Linked DNA regions of Homo sapiens: all the other regions are linked to region 3. The links are contacts of gene promoters, found by promoter capture Hi-C in blood cells and fetal thymus (Javierre and others, 2016). All regions are on one chromosome and are shown on one strand. Each heading gives the region's core, a stretch centred on a gene start or on the middle of the fragment in contact. The rest is flanking DNA. Distances are from core to core; before and after follow the strand shown. Region 1 overlaps PLEKHA8 (pleckstrin homology domain containing A8). Region 2 has its middle 18 kb from the start of MTURN. Region 3 holds the start of NOD1 (nucleotide binding oligomerization domain containing 1). Region 4 overlaps PLEKHA8 (pleckstrin homology domain containing A8). Region 5 overlaps PLEKHA8 (pleckstrin homology domain containing A8). Region 6 holds the start of SCRN1 (secernin 1). Region 7 overlaps FKBP14-AS1 (FKBP14 antisense RNA 1).

Region 1 (2,700 bases), core at 58-2,557, 440 kb after region 3:
AGGAAGAGGATCAGGAAAAATTAATGAATGCTGGGCTTAATACCTAGGTGATGGGATGATCTGTACAGCAAATGACCATGGCACACATTTATCTATGTAACAAACCTGCACATGTACCCCTGAACTTAAAGTTCAAGACTAAAAGAAAAAAAATCCATAAGAACTACTGTTGTGTAGAAATGCAGAAAAAAAAAATGAAAAGGGACTATTTAAACTCTTTCTAGAAAAGTTAGCCAAAAGTAAAGAAAAAAAGTGAAGGAAAGGTGCTTTTTCATTAACAATAAGAGGAAAAATTAGTGACCATAATAAAGGGGGAACAGAATGGGAGAAAGAAAAGGTTAAGTCCCTAAACTTCTTTCAGCTTTAGTTTCCTTTTCTACAAAATTTCAGCTGGAGTTTAGATGATGCCTAGAAGTCTCTCTCAGCTTTCAAAACCTATCCTAATACAAAATAACAGAAAACTCCCATCTTTCCCAGAATCTGATTCAAGAGATAGTAACTGCCAGGTACAGTGGCTCATGAGGCAGAAGGATCAGTTGAGGCCAGGAGTTCAAGACCAGCTTGGGCAACATAGCGAGACCCTGTTTCCAAACAAATTTTTTTAAATAAAAACAGAGAAAGTAACTAATGCCAAGAAAAAAAAAGTGAAATTAAATGTCTTGATAGGACTGACAATCTGAAATGTTGAGTCAAGACAATTTATTCATTATAAATTATGGTTTCTACGTTCATAACCCATATATATTATCATATCATATATTATGTATGCTATATAGATATGTTAATAGTGAAATAATCTACCATTTTAAATTGAAGCAAAGCAGAGCAATTAATTTGCTACCCCTGACCTCCATAGCCTTGGTGTTTTCCAATATCCAACCTAAGCGCTCAGCCACACCTCATCCCATTAGAGCCCTCCCCCACTCAGCTTCTCTAGGGGAGTTCCAGACAGGGATGCGGACAGCAAAGCCTTGGGTTCCTCTGCCAGGTCAGTCAGTTAAGAGTTCTGTTGTAGCTAGGGAGGAGGGAAGAATGAAGAAACACTCCTCATTGTAACAGTTACCCAAGCATTAGCTAAATTATAGGCTTCTTAATTTACCATTAATTAATTCACAAAGCATTTTCTGAGCAGTTGTAGTTTGCCAGGTTTGGAGATTTAGAGAAAAGATCCCAGCCTCAAGGAGTGACAGACTACTGGAGAGTCTACCATGTAGATGGTAAGAAGACTATAATTACAATAGATTATATCAAATTCTCTTTAAAACCTTCTGCTAGAAGATGTAGGTCACCTCTCCTGTGCACTTTGAGCTACCAAACTAAATATTTATTTGTTCTGCACAGTGCTTCTCATATGTCCTACCAGCACCTTAAAACAACGGAGTGAGGAAACCATGGTTTAAGTTCAGACTCATAACATCCAGGTATGTCATCTTAAGGACACTACTTAATTCCTCTGGGCATTATTTCTCTATCTAATCTATCTATCTATCTATCTATCTATCTATCTATCTATCTATCTATCTATCTATCTATTCTATCCTATCCTATCTACCTGAGACAGAATCTTACACTATCTATTTGTGACAGTCTTGCTCTGTCACCCATCTATCCATCTATCTATCTGAGACACAGTCTCACTCTATCTATCTATCTATCTATTTATTTATTTGCAACAGAGTCTCGTTCTGTTGCCCAGGCTGGAACACAGGTGTGATCTTGGCTCACTGCAACCCCTTAGCTCACTGCAACCTCCACCTTCTGGGTTCAAACGACTCTGGTGCCTCAGCCTCCCAAGTAGCTGGGATTACAGTCGTGTGCCATCACGCCCAGCTAATTTTTGTATTTTTAGTAGAGACGGGGCTTCACCATGTTGGCCAGGCTGGTCTCAAACTCCTGGCCTCAAGCGATCTGCCCATGTCGGCCTCCCAAAGTGTTGGCATTACAGGTGTGAGCCACCATGCCTGGTCTACAATGGAATTTTAATTAAGAATATATGGCCGGGCGAGGTGGCTCATGCCTGTAATCCCAACACTTTGGGAGGCCAAGAAGGGTGGATCACGAGGTCAGGAGTTCAAGACCAGCCTAGCCAACATGGTGAAACCTCATCTCTACTAAAAATACAAAAAAAAATCAGCCGGGCTTGGTGGCAGGCGCCTGTAATCCCAGCTACTTGGGAGGCTGAGGTAGAGAACTGCTTGAACCCGGGAGGCGAAGGTTGCAGTGAGCCGACATTGTGCCACTGCACTCCAGCCTGGGCGACAGAGCAACACTCCATCTCAAAATAAATAAATAAATAAATAAGTAAATAAGAATATATAAAGAGCTCTCACAACTCAATAATAAAAAGAACAATTAACTTTTAAAAATAGGTTAAAGATTTGAACAGACACTTCACAATGGAAGAGACAGCAATGGCCAATAATTATATGAAAAAGAATCCATGAGGAACCACAATTTGCAAATAGAAAGCTGAATACACAGAGACTAAATTTTCTGGGCATCATTAATCAAAACAGTGATCTAATTAACCTACCCTTAAAGTGAACTATGAACCTGCCTGGTACACAGTGGAGCATGTCTGCAGAGTGTCTGACACTAATGGGCACGACCCAGAAACTGCTAACAGTAAGCTCAATATCCATTACATATTCTTAACAAACCTAGGTACAGCTATTATTATTGCTGTCATTTTAAAACTGA
Region 2 (2,700 bases), core at 86-2,585, 360 kb after region 3:
TAGTCCTTTCTCAGCCCAGCCCATGCCTTTCCCCTTGGATTCCATGAGCTGTCCACCTACCTGCAGAGTTATTATAAAGCCCCTCATGTTGCTTCTCGTAGTTTGGTGGGCAAGATTTTCACAGGCCACAAACTCAAATAGGCAAGCAATTGAGCTTTATTTTCTTGTAATATAATTTAATTTCTCTTTTGAGACCTCATTCTATCTGATGGCAGAAAAACAATCAAATAAGTTCCAGATAGACTCAGTCATTTCAGGGTTTTCTCAGGCATTTTAGATCTCACTTAACTCAGGATACTCTCACATACTTCCTTCTCTCCAGGAGGCATCTCGGGGCTTGCTGGGCATCCTGGCCCAGGAGAGGCATTTAGTCCAGGCTGATCCCCTGGAGAGAGGCGTCACCCAGATGTGATGCATCCTGTCTCATGCTGGGTCATCATGTCCTGCAGGCCACTCTGCACCCGCCTGATTCTGAGTGACAGCCCTCCTGGGCCACCATCAGACATTTGTGTGTCCCTGTTAGAAATGAATCCACGTCTCAGTTTTTAAATTTTTTAAAAAATAAAAATATGAATAAAGTCTTGGCAATCTTTAATCTACAGGAAGTAGAGTTGTGTAGTTATACTTCTGTTTCTAATATCTTGTTGGCAACATAAGCTTTGTGCCTTCATTTTTTTAGTGTGCACACTAAACTTTTGAAACTTAAAATTATTTTTCTCATAAATTCTGGCAGTTGTAAATCAAAACTGTTGTTTTTTAAAGATTTTAATTTTTTTCTGGAGGGGGGTCTTGCTCTGTCACACAGGCTGGATGGAGTACAGTGGCATGATCATGGCTCACTGCAGCCTTGAACTCCTGGGCTCAAGTGACCCTCTCGCCTCAGCCTCCTGAGTATCTGGGACTACAGGTGTGTGCCAACATGCCTGGCTAATTTTTTTATTTTAGTGGAGATAAGGTCTCACTATGTTGCCCAGGCTGGTCTCAAATTCCTGAGCTAAAGCAATCCTCCCACCTCAGCCTCCCCAAGTGCTAGGCTTACAGGCAGGAACCATCGTGCCTGGCCCTAAATTTAATTTTTAATAAATTACATTTTAAGGCTATTATTTCTACTACAAATTTTAAGAAACTAACTTGGAACTAATTTAAGTCTCAAGAACCTAACTTGGAACTCAAATTCATTTGGCCAAGACATTGTATAGTGCTAACTTAAGTGGGAAGGGCCATGGGGTAACTTCTAGGAAATGCACACACACATATAATTTCATTGTATGGCATGAGTTTGAATCGATTTCTCAATTACTGTGAGCTGAGAACCCCAGTCTCCCAAAAATGCTTTCTATCCTTGACCCTGCCTGCCTCTCACAATTTCCAGGCTGTCTCCTTAATAACGTTCAATCTGCCTTCCACAGTCATTACGTCAACTGGGCACAGATGCTGGAAGGCAGACGGAAAGGCGGTGACAAAGTTAGACCTACATTTGCAAGACCAAGTGAAACACACACCCACTCTCCTGAAGCCAAACTGCTTTTGGAAGGCGGGCAGGGGAGTGCCATTCCCTCTAGCATACTTGTCATTCCCAGCCTAGGTTTCAGATCCTTTTTATACACTGGCCTGTGGAGAGACTTGCTGCTAAATTCTGTTATTTCACAGCCCATCTCTAGCAACTGTGTTGGGGAACGACTTCAGACATTCCAGGTTTTGCTCAGAGAGCAATTTTCAACAAGAAAGCCAGAATGGGGGAGTAGCTAAGATTTAGTTGCAGCAAATTGGAGACCGGAAATATAAAGTTATTCAGAACAGTCAATGAAAATCATTTATATGGGAGAGAAACAACATGATCTTGCTTTAAATGTAAGGCATCTATCAGCGGCACAATGTTAATTAGGATTCTAGGGCTCTTAGTGCAGCTATTCCCTTTTTTATTTCTAGGTTGCTAGGTGCAGAAGAGTAGATTTGCAGAACAGCTAATCAAATATATGCAAGAAGATGCCCCTCATTTATCCTTAAGCTTCTAAGGCAGAAGTTTTTCTTCAGTTGTTTGTTCTTTAATGAATTTTAATGATGTAAGAAAAATACAATACACTATTAGGTGAAAAATCGCACATGTAAACAGATATTCACACATGAATCAAGTTATATAGTACATATATACATACACACATATGTGTATGTATATATGTATACATGTATGAATACATACATGTATACATACATACATGTATGCATGTATACGTGTACATGTATACGCATACATGTATACGTATATACATATGTATACATGTATACGTGTATGTATGCGTATGTATACATATGTATACACATGTATACGTGTATGTATGCGTATGTATACATATGTATACACATGTATACGTGTATGTATGCGTATGTATACGTATGTATGCGTATGTATACATGTATACGTATGCATACGTATGTATGCGTATGCGCACATGTATGTATACGTATGTATGCGTATGTATGCGTATGTATGCGTATGCATACATGCATGCATGCACATGTATGCATGCATGTATGCGTATGTGTGCATGTATACATGTATGTACACGCACGCATGCATGTATACATGCATGTATACGCATGTATGCGTGCCTACATGTATGTGCACGTATGTATGCATACGTGTATACATGTATGTGCACGCATGTATACATGCATGCGTGTATACATGTATGTGCACGT
Region 3 (2,700 bases), core at 52-2,551:
TTGGTGAGATGTTCCTTGGGCTGTTTGGTCTGAGGACCCGAGGTCATAGGTGGATCTCCTCACAGAGTGAGGGTGAGGACAGGGGACTGGTCTCCTGAAGGAGTCCTCCTGTCCCGGGTCTTCGGCACCAAATGTCACACGTGTCCGTGTGAAGAGACCACCAAAAGGCTTTGCGTGAGCAATAAAGCTGTTTATTTCACCTGGGTGCAGGTGGGCCGAGTACGAAAAAAAGAGTCAGCAAAGGGAGTTAGGGGTGTGGTAGCTTTATAGGATTTGTGTGGGTAGTGGAAAATTACAGTCAAAGGGGGTTGTTCTCTGGTGGGCAAGGCGGGGGCCGGGGGGGTGGAAGGTCTACAAAGTGCTCAGTGGGGGAGCTTCTGAGCCAGGAGAAGGAATTTCACAAGGTAATGTCATCAGTTAAGGCAGGAACCAGCCATTTTCACTACCTTTGTGATTCCTCAGTTGCTTCAGGCCATCTGGATGTATACATGCAGGCTTGGGCTCAGAGGCCTGACACAAGTTGGCACATTTGATCCTATCAACTTTAGTTTGCACTTTCACTTTTGATTTAAGAACATACTTTCTGTTTCTCAGAGGGCAGCCTCTGATGGGAATTTTAATACTCACAAGCATCAGTGGCTATATGATTGAATGTACTTCTTCAGTGTGAGTAAGTGACAACTTTCTGTAGCATGATATCCCTTATGGACACGATCCCCATTCAAAACGTTTTAAAACTATTTTATTGGGGACATTTATTAGCATGTTAAAACTCTTTTACAACCTATTAGAGCATATGCATAGAACATAAAATGTACACTGCCAAGAACAAATTTAAGGATAGGAAGAAAAGCTTACATTTTTTAAAAAGTATAAATTGAAATGTATGCAGTGTAATTTAAATTTGATTACGTTAACCTCCATTTCATCAGGACCACGTGTCGCGTTTTAACAAGAGTTTCCCTATCATGTCCAGGCTTTGGCTCTGGTTGCAGGCGCTGGGTAGGCACTTTTACGAGGAGGGACCTGGCACGATGGCACCACAAATTCCCAAGTGTGTCACCTCTGGGCGAACTTGGGCCTGTCCACTCGGCCCTGCGCGGTGGCCAGGGGCTCACCCTCTCGCACCGGGCGTCCCTCTGCGCGCAGCTTCTCTCGCCCCCCCGCGCCAGACCCGGGCGAATGGCAGCACCGTGGGACCCTGCCTTGACCGCCCCCGCCCTTCGGCGGCCTCTCCCAGCAGCCGGCAGGCTCTTGGGCGCGCCAACAGAGGGGCGCGGCTGCGGCTGTAGTCGCAGCCAGTTCCCGTTCCGGGCCCGCGAGGCAGCCGCCCCGGTCCTGCCCCTCCCTCGCGCTACTGCGGGAGCAGCGTCCTCCCGGGCCACGGCGCTTCCCGGCCCCGGCGTCCCCGGACCATGGCGCTCTCCGGGCTCTTCTCTAGCTCTCAGCGGCTGCGAAGTCTGTAAACCTGGTGGCCAAGTAAGTCCCAGCGACTGGGGATTCGCGCGGGGCAGGCCCTTTCTGAGGTCCTGGGCGCTGCGAGTGAGGAGGCGCAGGGAGGCGGGATTTGCGTGCGGGCGGAACGCAGCGCGGCTCTGGAGGAGCTCTGGGTGGAACCAAGCGGAGAAACCCGCGAGTTTGAAGCATGTAGCGAAAGTTGAGAGGGATGAACTTCACAGTCAGCGGAATCGTTTATCCCACTGTGGTCGAACGCAGGGGTTCTCAATCGTGCCAGCAGCTTAGAACCACCTGGGGAGCTTTTAAAATCCAGATATCCAGGCTGCACCCTAGATCAATTCCATCAGAATCTCACGGAGTCAGACCCAGGCCTCCGTATCTTTTAAAAGCTCCCCAAGTGATTCCAGTGTGCAGCCAGCGTTCGAGGGTTTGTGGCAAAGGCTGGAAGGGCAGACAGGGGCCTTCATGGAGTCCCGCCTGCAGACGGGACAGCAGCTCCCAGTGTCCTGCTTGGTCCTGGAGAGAGGGTGAGAACTTCCCTTGGGTTTCATGCTCCACAAAGTAAGGAAATGAGACAATGCTTGGCAAGGTCGCCTGAATATCACATTCAAAAACGCCTCCAATGTGTGCAGTTGTTTTGGCACATTGTGAAAAACATAGGAAATGACAGAGGTTGATGTCTCATTAGCTCTGCATTCTAGGAAACATTTCGGTTGTTGGTGTTTGAAATTAAGTCTGGGGAAGCTAAGCTAGTAAACCCATGGCCTTGATGACTTCTGGCCTTTCTGCTTTAAGGGTGAAGCCAGGGCCGGGCGCGGTGGCTCACGCCTGTAATCCCAGCACTTTGGGAGGCCAAGGCAGGCGGATCACCTGAGGTCGAGAGTTCGAGACCAGCCTGGCCCAACATGGTGAAACCGTCTCTACTAAAAAAAAAAAAAAAAAAAATTAACCGGGCGTGGTGGCGCATGCCTGTAATCCCAGCTACTCGGGAGGCTGAAGCAGGAGAATTGCTTGAACCCGGGAGGCAGAGGTTGCAGTGAGCCGAGATCGCCCTGTTGCGCTCCAGCCTGGGCAACAAGAGCAAAACTCCGTCAAAAACAAACAAACAAACAAAAAACAAAAAAACGGTGAAGCCAGAAGTCGTGCTTGCCAAAGGGTCGAGTTTGTTCTCCCTCAAAGCCCCTGTTGAAGATTGAACTATCACTTTCAGGGAAGAGTAAAAGAGTAACTCCACGATGCATC
Region 4 (2,700 bases), core at 107-2,606, 420 kb after region 3:
TATGTATTTGTTAGATATAAATTACATATAATTTAAATGTTACATATAAATTTTCAGATATATTTATCTATTAAATATATATATAACATATATATACATAACATATATATACACATAACATATATATATACACACACACACACACACACACACACACACACACACACACACACTTTTTTTTTTTTTTTTTTGAGACAGGCTGTCTGTCATCCAGGCTGGAGTGCAGTGGTGCAATCTCGGCTCACTGCAACCTCCGTCTCCCAGGTTCAAGCAATTCTCCTGCCTCAGCCTCCTGAGTAACTGGGATTACAGGTGCGCGCCACCACACTCAGCTAATTTTTGTATTTTTAGTAGAGACGGGGTTTTACCATGTTGGCCAGGCTGGTCTCAAACTCCTCATCTCAGGTGATCCGCCCACCTCAGCCTCCCAAAGTGCTGGGATTACAGGCGTGAGCCACTGTGCCCAGCCATAACATACATTTTATTTATTTACATATATATGTATGTTATATATATGTGTTATATATATTATATATATGTTATTTATATATATATGTGTTATATATATTATATATATGTTATTTATATATATATATATATATAGAGAGAGAGAGAGAGAGAGAGAGAGAGAGAGAGAATATATCTTTAAAAATCTTTGAAAATATGTTTTGCAGGCCGGGCGTGGTGGCTCACACCTGTAATCCCAGCACTTTTGGAGGCCAAGGCAGGCGGATCACGAGGTCAGGAGATCAAGACTATCCTGGCAAACACAGTGAAACCCTGTCTCTACTAAAAATACAAAAAAATTAGCCAGGTGTGGTGGCAGGCACCTGAAGTCCCAGCTACTCGGGAGGCTGAGGCAGGAGAACAGCATGAACCTGGGGGGCGGAGCTTGCAGTGAGTGGAGATCCCGCCACTGCACTGCAGCCTGGGTGACAGAGCAAGACTCCGTCTCAAAAAAAAAAAAAAAGAAAATATGTTTTGGTTGGGTATGGTGGCTCACATTTTGGGAGGGAAGGATCACTTGAGCCCGGGTGTTCCAAACCAGTATGGGCAACATGACGAAACCCATATCCACAAAAAATACAAAAATTAGCCGGGCATGCGCATATAGTCCAGCTACCAAGAAGGCTGAGGTGGAAGGATTGCTTGAGCCTGGGAGGTGAAGTTTGCAGTGAACAGAGATCATGCCACTGCACTCCAGCCTGGGCAACAAAGCAAGAGCCTGTCTCAAAAAAGTTTTAACTGGTAAAACACATTTTTTCACAGTGCCAATATATTTGAAGGTCTATTCCTCAAATACTTTTTTTACTTTTATGTATGGTTTCTAGAAAGATCCCCCTTTTAAATTACATTATTTTGAGGTCAATATTTAATCATTATTAGAAATGAAATGGGAATATGCAATAATGCTTAAGGTCACACAGTTTTAACTGTATGTGTCTGGTGATTTGAACAAATAGCCAAGGGTCATCTCACTGTACACATAGTTTGGGGTATTTCTCCTGCAAAATAACTACAGTGAGGCAGATTCTAGACATGAATGAATGTAAGGCAACTGCAGGAATCTTACCTAATACTGGAACCACAGCATAACATGATGCCAAGAATGCTTCTGTGGGAATGCCACTGTCTTCCAGAAGTTCAATGTCACTAAAGCTACATAATTTGGTGATATGGAGGAGAAAAGATTGAAAATACAGTATCAGCACTCTGCAATTCAGAGGTAAGTCATAGACACAGCTGCCTCTCTGTAGGGCAAATCGTTTGACTTGATATGCCCCAGTAACTGTTTTTCTAATATGGTCTCATAAAATAAATTTCCAAAGATAATCCACCAAAGCAAGCTAACATTTGTTCACAGAGCACACTTCACAATGAATTCCTTCTTATTCATTGGTAAGAAAGAGTAAACAGTAAAGCAGGTACTTGGTATACCACATTCTCTATTCTCCTAGAATATGCCATCACCTGAAAGGAACACCATGACTGATTTTCCAGAATGGAAGTTAGTATCCAAGCATCAGTGATATTAAAGAGTCTAGAATACCTTGTGTTCATGGTACTAAAGAAAGTTGGGATAACTTCTTTGCCTTCCTCCCAGAGGCATTCCGGAGAGCAACTTGAGTCTGATCCAGACTGAGTCAAGTTATTGTCATGATTTTTCAGGTTTTCCATTCCATCTTCCTTCCTTATTTCACCTTGGACTGCAAAGTAGAAAATATCTATTACTAACCTATTATATATTTATTATAAAAATACATATTGATTGTTGAAAATTTCTAAAACACAGAAAAATACATAGAAATAAAAATTCATGAAACACTATTCACATATACATAAACATACATCTACACACACAAACAAAACTTGAAGTATGTGTAGATTTGAATCCTGCTTGCTTTCACTAAACAATGTATCATGAATATTTTCATTATCATTCAACCCTTCAAAAACATGATTTTAATGACCATGTTATATTGTATCATATCCATGAGGGGCACTTAGGTAGCTTCCAAAATTTTACAATTATAAATACAATCACTACTCATTATTAGCACATTCTATATGTATTTGTGAATTTGTCTACTTGCTAAAATTTATTTTGTAACCCCAAAATCAATACATGCGGCACTTTTGCAGACATTTGTGGACACGTGCAAAGTGGTGAAAACTTTGTTGCCGGACACACATATTCCT
Region 5 (2,700 bases), core at 171-2,670, 400 kb after region 3:
AAATTATCTGGCTCCTCTGCTTAAAAACTATGTGACTGTGAACAGATCCCTCAACTTCTAAACCTTGCTTTTGAAGTGGAGTAATAATCCCTCTGGGTATCATTACTTGTGATGTCCAATTGAGATAATGCATGGGGAACATGCTGGTAAATGGTAGGCAGTTGGGAGGTGTCATCTCAAATGACCTGTCCCACCTCTCTCATATTCTCCCCTCCAACTTGGGGCTAGGGCACACCATTAATCTTCTCAGAGCAACGGTTTCATGCCTGTCAGCAAGGATGGGACTCCTGTCCACGTCTTCTTCGCCTCCCACAATTGCATGGTCATGTGAATGCCCTGAACATCTTTACTACACAGGCCCTTATCACTGACAGAGTTGCAGTGAAGAGGGTCCACTGAAGAACATCTAGGAACAGCAAACTCTACACAGCTTCAACAAAGCAGCTTATACTACCTCCAAATGTCTAGTCTAAGTTGGCTGAAACACTGGCTATGAATTATGGTACTTAATATGGAATTTGCTGATTTTCAGCTTGGGTTTGGGTGGCCCATTAGACTAAAATATAAAAACAATACAATACACAATAACAGCAAATTTGTTTGTTAAATCTGCTCTTATAACTTGCTGTTCAAGTCTACAGCAGCTTATCATTTGGTTTCCAGTAGGCCTGCTGAACTGAAATATATAGCACCTTGATCTTTAAACAAAACACATATGCATTTTAAAAATTATAAAAGCACTGGGTTTTGCCACCTCCTGTCCATCCCCCCAGGTGAAGGGGTTGGAGAGGGTTGAGGCTGTTGCTGGAAATTAAGTAGGGCAACAAAACACTTTAGCACTTATTCCCTGAAGTTAGGAGGTGCTGCCCAGCAGCCATCATACCACCTCATCAGATTCCAGCCCGTGGACCTCATATAAAGTGTCCAGTATGGCCAGCTGCTTCTCCATGGCAGGGAGGTAAAGGCTGAGGTCCCTCTGCATCCCAATACTGAAAGCTTCTTTCTGGTGGTCACCTTCCTTTACGGTTAACGCGGCCACAAAATCTTCATAGGATGGAGCTGCCCTTAAAGCTAACTGCAAAAGAATAACCCATGAGAATCTGCATCAAGTCTGTCTCTCACACTCTTATTTTTATGCATGTGCACATGCACACACACATACTTTCACACATACAAACAGCTGAGAAGAGCAAGAGTAAAGAAATATGACTACCCTTCTAATTTGTGGCTTCTCTAAAATTATGTTTCAAGGGCCAATTCAAATAACTTTAAGGCTAGAAGAAACAAGCATGTACTTGGGCCACCTTAAGGATAAATAATGCTATCACATCAGGGAATGCTGAGAGAGAGAGTCTGAGAAAAGCTCCCTTCTGATCCACAGTGTGATCCAGACTATTCCCCTCAAATCCTCAGAATCTATATGCATGTTGCCATCATGGTCTTTATTCCCACATGGCCTGTCTTCTGGGGCATCTCATTCTCTTATTTGTATCTCATCTCTATATATTTCTTTGCGTATCTTCTATTTTTCCCCCATAAGAATAATCTTTCCTTTGCACTCTTGAATGCTTTCTAGAAAGGAAGGGAGCTAACATTTATTGTTTGCTTGTGCGCTGATGCTTTAACATAGTTTATTCTAGCTGATCTTTATAAGAACCCTGTACAGTTTATATCTCTATTTTATATATAAACGTCATACAGCTAATGAGTGCCAGGGCTAGGATCTGAACTTGGATCATCTCTGTGTTTTTCAACCACACCACCATATTATGCCACTTGCCTAACAGATTTCCTAGGCATCTTATCCTTCTCTTCCTTTGCGGGCCAATATTTCCTAAGCTTGCTAAAATCTGTTTTCTGGCGGTCACTAGATCTCAGCAGAGGCTTTTTGAAGAATCTTGAATTATCATTCCACAGTTGCTTTCCTGATCTTCCTTATACTTTGAAAGTCTTTGAGAATCAGACCTCCCCATTTTTGCAGTAAGAGAGTGACTGGCATTATCATGCAGTGGCTAAAGCACAGACTTAGATGAAGCAGACCTGGACTTGAATCTCAGATCTTTCACATACCAGTTTGAGGAATTTATGCAAAGTGCTTAACTTCCTAGAATCTCAGTTTCCTTATTTATAGAAGAAGACTAATACCACTTTCCTTATTTTAAGCATTAATGGGATCTGTAGGAAGTGTTTAGCCCACTGCCTGGCACATGATAAATACTTAAGATAATGGTCAAAGTACAAGCGAGTGGGAAAACTGAAAATTAAGAGAAGGCAGTTATCCAAAAACATAACAAAAGAAAATCTCCCAGAACTGGAGGATAGGAGTCTCCAGATTTAAAGACCTAATCAAGTGCTCAGCATAATGAATGATAAAGACCAAAAGGGCACATCATGAAATTTCAGAATGTGGGGAAAAACAATCTAAAACATTTCGAAAGGGACAAGGAACAGATTATATATAATAGAATAGGATTTCACAATAGTAACAGTAGAAGCTGGAGGACAATAGAGGAATGCCTTCAAAATTTGGAGGGAAAATGTTTATTAACCTAGAATTCTACACTCAGCCATCAGCACTCTAGAAAAAAAAGGGGAGAACCAGTAATAGAGTTCAACTGTCTAGTCTGATTGAAGAGGAAACCAAAAAGGTCAAATGAAGGCTAGTTAGTGACCAAGATGGAGGCAGCCACCTTGCCTGAA
Region 6 (2,700 bases), core at 44-2,543, 490 kb after region 3:
TTCTGCTCCCTGGTGGCATCTATTACAGGTTCTTACGTACTCTTCCAAAGATACTCTGTGCATTTACAAAAATAAGTACAGACATACATATATATTTTCTTCCCACAAATAACACACACAACGTTCTGCACCTAGCTTTTTATTTTTCTTTAGTTAGTATAGGTTGGAAATAGTTTTGTATTAGCAAATAAAGATCATTCTCCTTTTTAAAGGAAGCTGGATAGTAGAGGCAGGCGGATTGCCTAAGCTCAGGAGTTTGAGACCGGCCTGGGCAACATGGTGAAACCCCATCTCTACTAAAAATCAAAAAAAATTAGCGAGGCTGGTGGCGTGGGTCTGTAGTCTCAGCCACTTGGGAGGCTGAGGCACGAGAATCGCTTGAACCCGGGAGGCGGGAGGCGGGAGGCGGGAGGCAGGAGGCGGAGTTTGCAGTGAGCCGAGATCCTGCCACTGCATTCCAGACTGGGCGACAAAGCAAGACTCAAAATGTTTTGATTTTTGTTAATCTGGCTGGTGGAAGATGCTACCCCACATATTTGATTTGCAGTTAAGTGAGCCTGAATATCTTTTCGTGTGCCAGGATAGAATTGCATTTATTTTCCTCTGAATTACGTCTTCATATCTTTTGAGATAGTCTTTTCTTATTTACTTATAAAAGATGGAGTTGACGCTGGCATCAACACACACACACACACACACACACAGACACACAACACACAAGTCCCTGTACATAACTTTATTAACCCAGATATGGAATCTTGGCTTAGTTACGTGCTGTGTGACCTTGGGCAAGTTACTTAACCTCTCTAGGCCACAATGTCCAAGTACCTGGGACAGGGTCTGGCTTACCAACATGGTACAGGACGGCACTTTTAAAACCAGGGACTCGACTTGGACGTGCGAGTCAACAAGGTACAGGACACATTTCTCTCCGGGGAAATCTTGTGTGGGCGCCGAGGCCCGGACGTAGCAACCAAACGTCGGGAAGAGGCGCCAAAAGGATGCTGGGCCTGGCTCCTTGAAGCCCGGGTTTTCCCTTTTGAGAGCCACAACCAAGAAATAAAAATCTAGCAAAGAGGGGGCCACTTTCTGCGGCGAGATACGCCCTCTCGGCCGCTCCTCCAGCTCCCAGGCCCCCTCCCTACTCGACGGTGAGCAGCGCCGCGGCCCGTGCAGCCAGACGCGCGGGGTGCGGCGGGGCCCCGGGGGCCGGGGTGGGGGAGGCGGAGGGTGGGCCCGCGGTCACGTGAGTCGGGCCAGCTGCTGCGGGGGGCGGCGGGCCCCAGCGCCGGGAGTCTGGGTAGGGGGAAGCGCCCGGCGGCCGCCTCCGCCACTGCAGCTGCAGCCCCCGAGGTCGCCGCAGTAATCCGGACCCGGCAGCACCCGCACCCTCGGCGGCCGCAGCCTCAGCACCGCAGAGCGGAGAGCGGAGCCCGGAGCCCGCCGCCCCAGGTGAGCCGCGTCTGGGAGCGCAGGGCGTTTGCAGCGCTGCTTTCCCGGCGGTTTCACCCCACCCGCCATCGCCACCTCCTGCGTTTCATCTCCTCCCGCTGTCCCTCCGAACCCGCGGGTAGCGTTACCCCAGGCCGATTCCCGGTGCTGGCCCGGGCGGGCTGGGAGCCTGGGGGCGGTCAGAGGAGAGGTGGCCTCGGCCTGAAGCCGGGGTGACTCGGCTCGGGGACTGCGGGGGTGCAGTGGAGGGATGCCGGCCCCGGGCTCCCGCACCGCAGCCGGGTTCCCCGCGCTGCTCTTCCTGGGTTTCCTTTTCCTGGCAGCCAACCTGCTGCCCACTGGGATGTGCCTGTGGGCCCCTGGCCTCGCCACCCTGGGGTCTGGGGCGAGCCGGGCACCTTCCCCGAGGTGCCGTACCTGCTGCGCGGGCGGGCGCCGCGAACATGGCTGCCCGGAGACGCCCGCCGCCTTCGGCCCGGCTCTGCCAGCGCGTCCAACTCGCCCGCGGCCGCCGCACCGTGTCCCGGAGCAGCCCTCCCCGCTAGGCCGACGCGCGCGGGCCGCCCCTGGGTTCTCCGCGGGCCGCGCGTGGGACTTGACACAACTTCCCTCGAGCCGCACCCGGGCGTTCTCCGCGGGGCGCCGGGCGGGGCTGCCGAGAGGCCGGCTTGGTCGGCCTCTGCCTCCTCGGCTCGCTCTTGAGGCGTCGAGTATTTGGCGACCTCACTCGCGAGGGCCGAGAGAAATGTGGTCTGCAAAGCAGGAGGGGCGCTTGAACTTTAGAGAATTGGCGAGAACTCGGATTTGGGAATAAAAATGTCCATGAAAACATCGAAGGAAACTGTTACCTGCTTTGACTCAAAGCTGACCTTGTAGGGTTCTGTTAAATAACGTGGCTTTTCTGGATTTTCTGTCTGATTCTAGCATGCAAGTCCTTGACTTACGCTTGCGTCCGGCAGCCGGGTGGGGTGGGTGCGTGCGTGTGTGTGTGCGCGTGTGCGCGTGTTGTGTTCCCAGCCTGGTTAGAAGATGCATCAGTTGCGGAGGAAACCTATGCTAATTCAAAATGGCAGCATGAAAAATAGGCCAGGCGGAAGCAGCACAGACCACAACCATCAGCTGCCCCCTGACTTAAGCCTCAGGGAGGGAATTAGTGTGAGTCAAGGCTCATCCGGGTATGGAGTAGAGAGTGATTCTTGGAGCTGGCTAGATTTTAGGGTGCTGCAGGGTCCTGGGAGTTGTTAAGTG
Region 7 (2,700 bases), core at 41-2,540, 470 kb after region 3:
GAGGAGGGAGGGTGATGGTTATTATCACTGTTGTTTTGGTTTAGGGTTTTATCGTGTGTAGCAGGTGGACACACTGATTTATGCCTACTGCGTAAATCAGTGCTATAAAATACCCTCTGATTAAACGAAATGCGGGGTTGCCATGAAAATAACGAGAAACAATGATTTCTGATTCAGATGAAGAATCTAGCCATTTGGATCTTTCCTTATGGAAATGAATTTGTAGTTTTTATTTTATTAATGATGTGTGGGATATTGCTTATATTTCTTTTCTATTTTTTTTCTTTTGTTGTTGTTGAGACACAGTTTCGCTCTTGTTGCCAGGCTGGAGTCCAGTGGCGCGATCTTGGTTGACCACAACCTCCGCCTCCCAGGTTCAAGCGATTCTCCTGCTTCAGCCTCCCCAGTAGCTGGGATTACAGGCATGCGCCACCACGCCCAGCTAATTTTTTTTTTTTTTTTTTTTTTAGTAGAGACAGGGTTTCTCCATGTTGGTCAGGCTGGTCTCGAACTCCTGACCTCAGGTAATCCGCCTGCCTCAGCCTCCCAAAGGGCTGGGATTACAGGCGTGAGGGACCACGCCCGGCCTATTGCTTATATTTCTAATGCTACATAGAGGTCAGCATGCTATCTCTCCCCATTGAACTGTGTATATATGGGTGATTTCTCAGTGTTTGGAAATTGCAAGAGGAGAAAAAGGAATTTGGTGGCATGTTATGGGAAAATATATTCTCTTACCTTTTTATTAAAAAGGTAAATTATATGCCGAGTGTGGTGGCTCATGCCTGTACTCCCAGCACCTTGGGACGCTGAGGCGGGGGGATCACTTGAGGTCAGGTGCTCGAGACCAACCTGGTCAACATGGTGAAACCCTGTCTTTACTAAAAATGCAAAAATTAGCCAGGCATGGTGGTGCACGCATGTAATCCCAGCTACTAGGGAGGCTGAAGCAGGAGAATCACTTGAACCTGGGAGGTGGAGGTTGAAGTGAGCCAAAATTGTGCTACTACATTCCAGCTTGAGTGACAGAGCAAGATTCCATCTCAAAAAAAAAAAAAAATTATAGCACTATCGGATGCAGGGAGAAACAAAAAACTAAAAAAGTAAATTAGCATTATAATAATAACCCTGGGAAAATAAAAAAGAACTTCTTTTCCAGAGATGCAGAGCACTTGGACATAAGAATTTTTGTTTTTTGTTTCTTGCCCATTTTACCTTAAATTGAAATCTAAGATGTCAAAATGATTATAAACACATATGCCCATTTAAAAGCATTACTATGCATTACTATTATAGTATTTCTAGTACTTCTGTGTCTTAGCATCCTTAGCATTCTTTTTTTTTTTTTGGAGACGGATTCTCGCTCTGTCGCCCAGGATCTTGGCTCACTGCAAGCTCTGCCTCCTGGGTTCATGCCATTCTCCTGCCTCAGCCTGGGGCTACAGGCGCCTGCCACCACGCCCGGCTAATTTTTTTGTATTTTTAGTAGAGACGGGTTTCACCGTGTTAGCCAGGATGGTCTTGATCTCCTGACCTCGTGATCGGCCTGCCTTGGCCTCCCAAAGTGCTGGGATTACAGGCATGAGCCACCGCACCTGGCCGGCTTTTTTTTTTTTTTTAAATCTCAGCTCACTGCAACCTCCACCTCCCAGGTTCAAGTGATCTTCCCGCCTCAGCCTCCTGAGTAACTGGGACTACAGACACATGCCACCACACTCAGCTAATTTTTGTATTTTTAGTAGAGATTGGGTTTCACCATGTTGGTCAGGCTGGTCTCGAACTCCTGAACTCAGATGATCTCCCCACCTCGGCCTCCCACAGTGCTGGGATTACAGGCATGAGCCACCGTGCCTGGCCAGCATTCTTTTTAGTAGGTTTGTGTATTCCCTTTAGTACAATGAAATCAATACATTCTTACCTTAGGTTTGGAGCCTATTTGAAGATAAATGATTTTTTCTTTAAAATACTGTTTTGGTCTCCTTTACCTTTGCCTCATCTACCTCCAGCTCCTTGCTTTAGGCTGACTGCAGAGGGAGGCCGTAGCAAACATTGCTGTCAGGGCTCCGTCCTGAAGTAAAATGAGACACACACCTTAGTTTTTAAAGGTTGCAGAAATGTAGCGGTGATTCACATTTTAGTGCATGGCAGAATCACATGGGGTGTATTAAAAGTGCAGATTCCTGAATCCCCAAAGATTCTCATTAATTATTGGATTGGGCCTGTGAATCTGCAGTTTTTGTTGTTGTTGAGACAGAGTCCTGCTTTGTCACCCAGGCTAGAGTGCAGTGGCACAATCTCAGCTCACTGCAACCTCTGCCTCCCAGGTTCAAGCGATTCTCCTGCCTCAGCCTCCCAAGTAGCTGGGACTAAAGGTGCATGCCAGCGTGCCCGGCTAATTTTTGTATTTTTAGTAGAGTCCAGGTTTCACCATGTTGGCCAGACTGGTCTTGAACTCCTGACCTCAAGTGATCCCCCCACCTCAGCCTCCCAAAGTCCTGGGATTACAGGTGTGAGCCATCACGCTGGGCCTGAGTCTGCATTTTAACATGCTTGCTGGTGACCCTGATGCAGGTGGTCCAAAAACCTGAATTTGAGGGACAGATAACTTCACTACTTCCCTGCCCTTGTAAATACAGTCTCCTATATTTGTATTTTCTATGAACATTCTTTTATGTATTCCAGAAAGCATTGTGCATTGGG

The links. Contacts are between HindIII fragments. The CHiCAGO score rates a contact against its expected background, and 5 or more counts as called.
Region 1: a fragment that was not itself captured here is called in contact with the fragment with the promoter of NOD1 in region 3 in 9 of 17 cell types (neutrophils, total CD4 T cells, non-activated CD4 T cells and 6 more); the score reaches 10.8 in neutrophils.
Region 2: a contact is called between a fragment that was not itself captured here and the fragment with the promoter of NOD1 in region 3, in 11 of 17 cell types (total B cells, non-activated CD4 T cells, naive B cells and 8 more). The highest score is 16.0, in total B cells.
Region 4: a contact is called between a fragment that was not itself captured here and the fragment with the promoter of NOD1 in region 3, in 3 of 17 cell types (neutrophils, total B cells and total CD8 T cells). The highest score is 8.9, in neutrophils.
Region 5: a contact is called between a fragment that was not itself captured here and the fragment with the promoter of NOD1 in region 3, in 8 of 17 cell types (naive B cells, total B cells, activated CD4 T cells and 5 more). The highest score is 11.5, in naive B cells.
Region 6: a contact is called between the fragment with the promoter of SCRN1 here and the fragment with the promoter of NOD1 in region 3, in 6 of 17 cell types (neutrophils, naive B cells, total B cells and 3 more). The highest score is 10.1, in neutrophils.
Region 7: a contact is called between a fragment that was not itself captured here and the fragment with the promoter of NOD1 in region 3, in 4 of 17 cell types (total CD4 T cells, neutrophils, activated CD4 T cells and 1 more). The highest score is 8.3, in total CD4 T cells.

Annotation. Positions count from the first base shown.
Region 1 is chr7:30,035,241-30,037,940 of GRCh38, reverse strand. The region is part of intron 1 of PLEKHA8 (pleckstrin homology domain containing A8); the gene reads right to left. Among named protein-coding and RNA genes, the nearest start is that of PLEKHA8, 8.2 kb to the right of the region's middle. The HindIII fragment of the contact is 7,809 bases long and covers 1-2,700 here.
Region 2 is chr7:30,115,786-30,118,485 of GRCh38, reverse strand. It overlaps a transcript of PLEKHA8 not described here. Among named protein-coding and RNA genes, the nearest start is that of MTURN, 18 kb to the left of the region's middle. The HindIII fragment of the contact is 1,351 bases long and covers 660-2,010 here.
Region 3 is chr7:30,477,385-30,480,084 of GRCh38, reverse strand. It overlaps NOD1 (nucleotide binding oligomerization domain containing 1), which reads left to right and starts at 1,301. Exons shown (of 14, transcript NM_006092.4): 1 at 1,301-1,479. RefSeq lists a silencer at 1,173-1,412 and an enhancer at 1,061-1,805. The HindIII fragment of the contact is 7,069 bases long and covers 856-2,700 here.
Region 4 is chr7:30,054,216-30,056,915 of GRCh38, reverse strand. PLEKHA8 (pleckstrin homology domain containing A8) reads right to left here. Exons shown (of 14, transcript NM_001197026.2): 8 at 2,051-2,207; 9 at 1,574-1,659. Among named protein-coding and RNA genes, the nearest start is that of PLEKHA8, 27 kb to the right of the region's middle. The HindIII fragment of the contact is 6,410 bases long and covers 1-2,700 here.
Region 5 is chr7:30,076,965-30,079,664 of GRCh38, reverse strand. PLEKHA8 (pleckstrin homology domain containing A8) reads right to left here. Exons shown (of 14, transcript NM_001197026.2): 14 at 1-1,075. The coding sequence ends at 878. Among named protein-coding and RNA genes, the nearest start is that of PLEKHA8, 50 kb to the right of the region's middle. The HindIII fragment of the contact is 843 bases long and covers 999-1,841 here.
Region 6 is chr7:29,988,394-29,991,093 of GRCh38, reverse strand. SCRN1 (secernin 1) reads left to right here and starts at 1,293. Exons shown (of 8, transcript NM_014766.5): 1 at 1,293-1,452. It overlaps FKBP14-AS1 (FKBP14 antisense RNA 1), which reads right to left and starts at 2,438. Exons shown (of 3, transcript NR_187577.1): 1 at 2,301-2,438. RefSeq lists silencers at 1,167-1,506, 1,527-1,576, 1,587-1,856, 1,947-2,066. The HindIII fragment of the contact is 11,019 bases long and covers 1-2,700 here.
Region 7 is chr7:30,007,596-30,010,295 of GRCh38, reverse strand. It overlaps FKBP14-AS1 (FKBP14 antisense RNA 1), which reads right to left. Exons shown (of 3, transcript NR_187577.1): 2 at 1,919-2,068. It also overlaps a transcript of FKBP14 not described here. Among named protein-coding and RNA genes, the nearest start is that of FKBP14, 18 kb to the left of the region's middle. The HindIII fragment of the contact is 3,733 bases long and covers 1-2,700 here.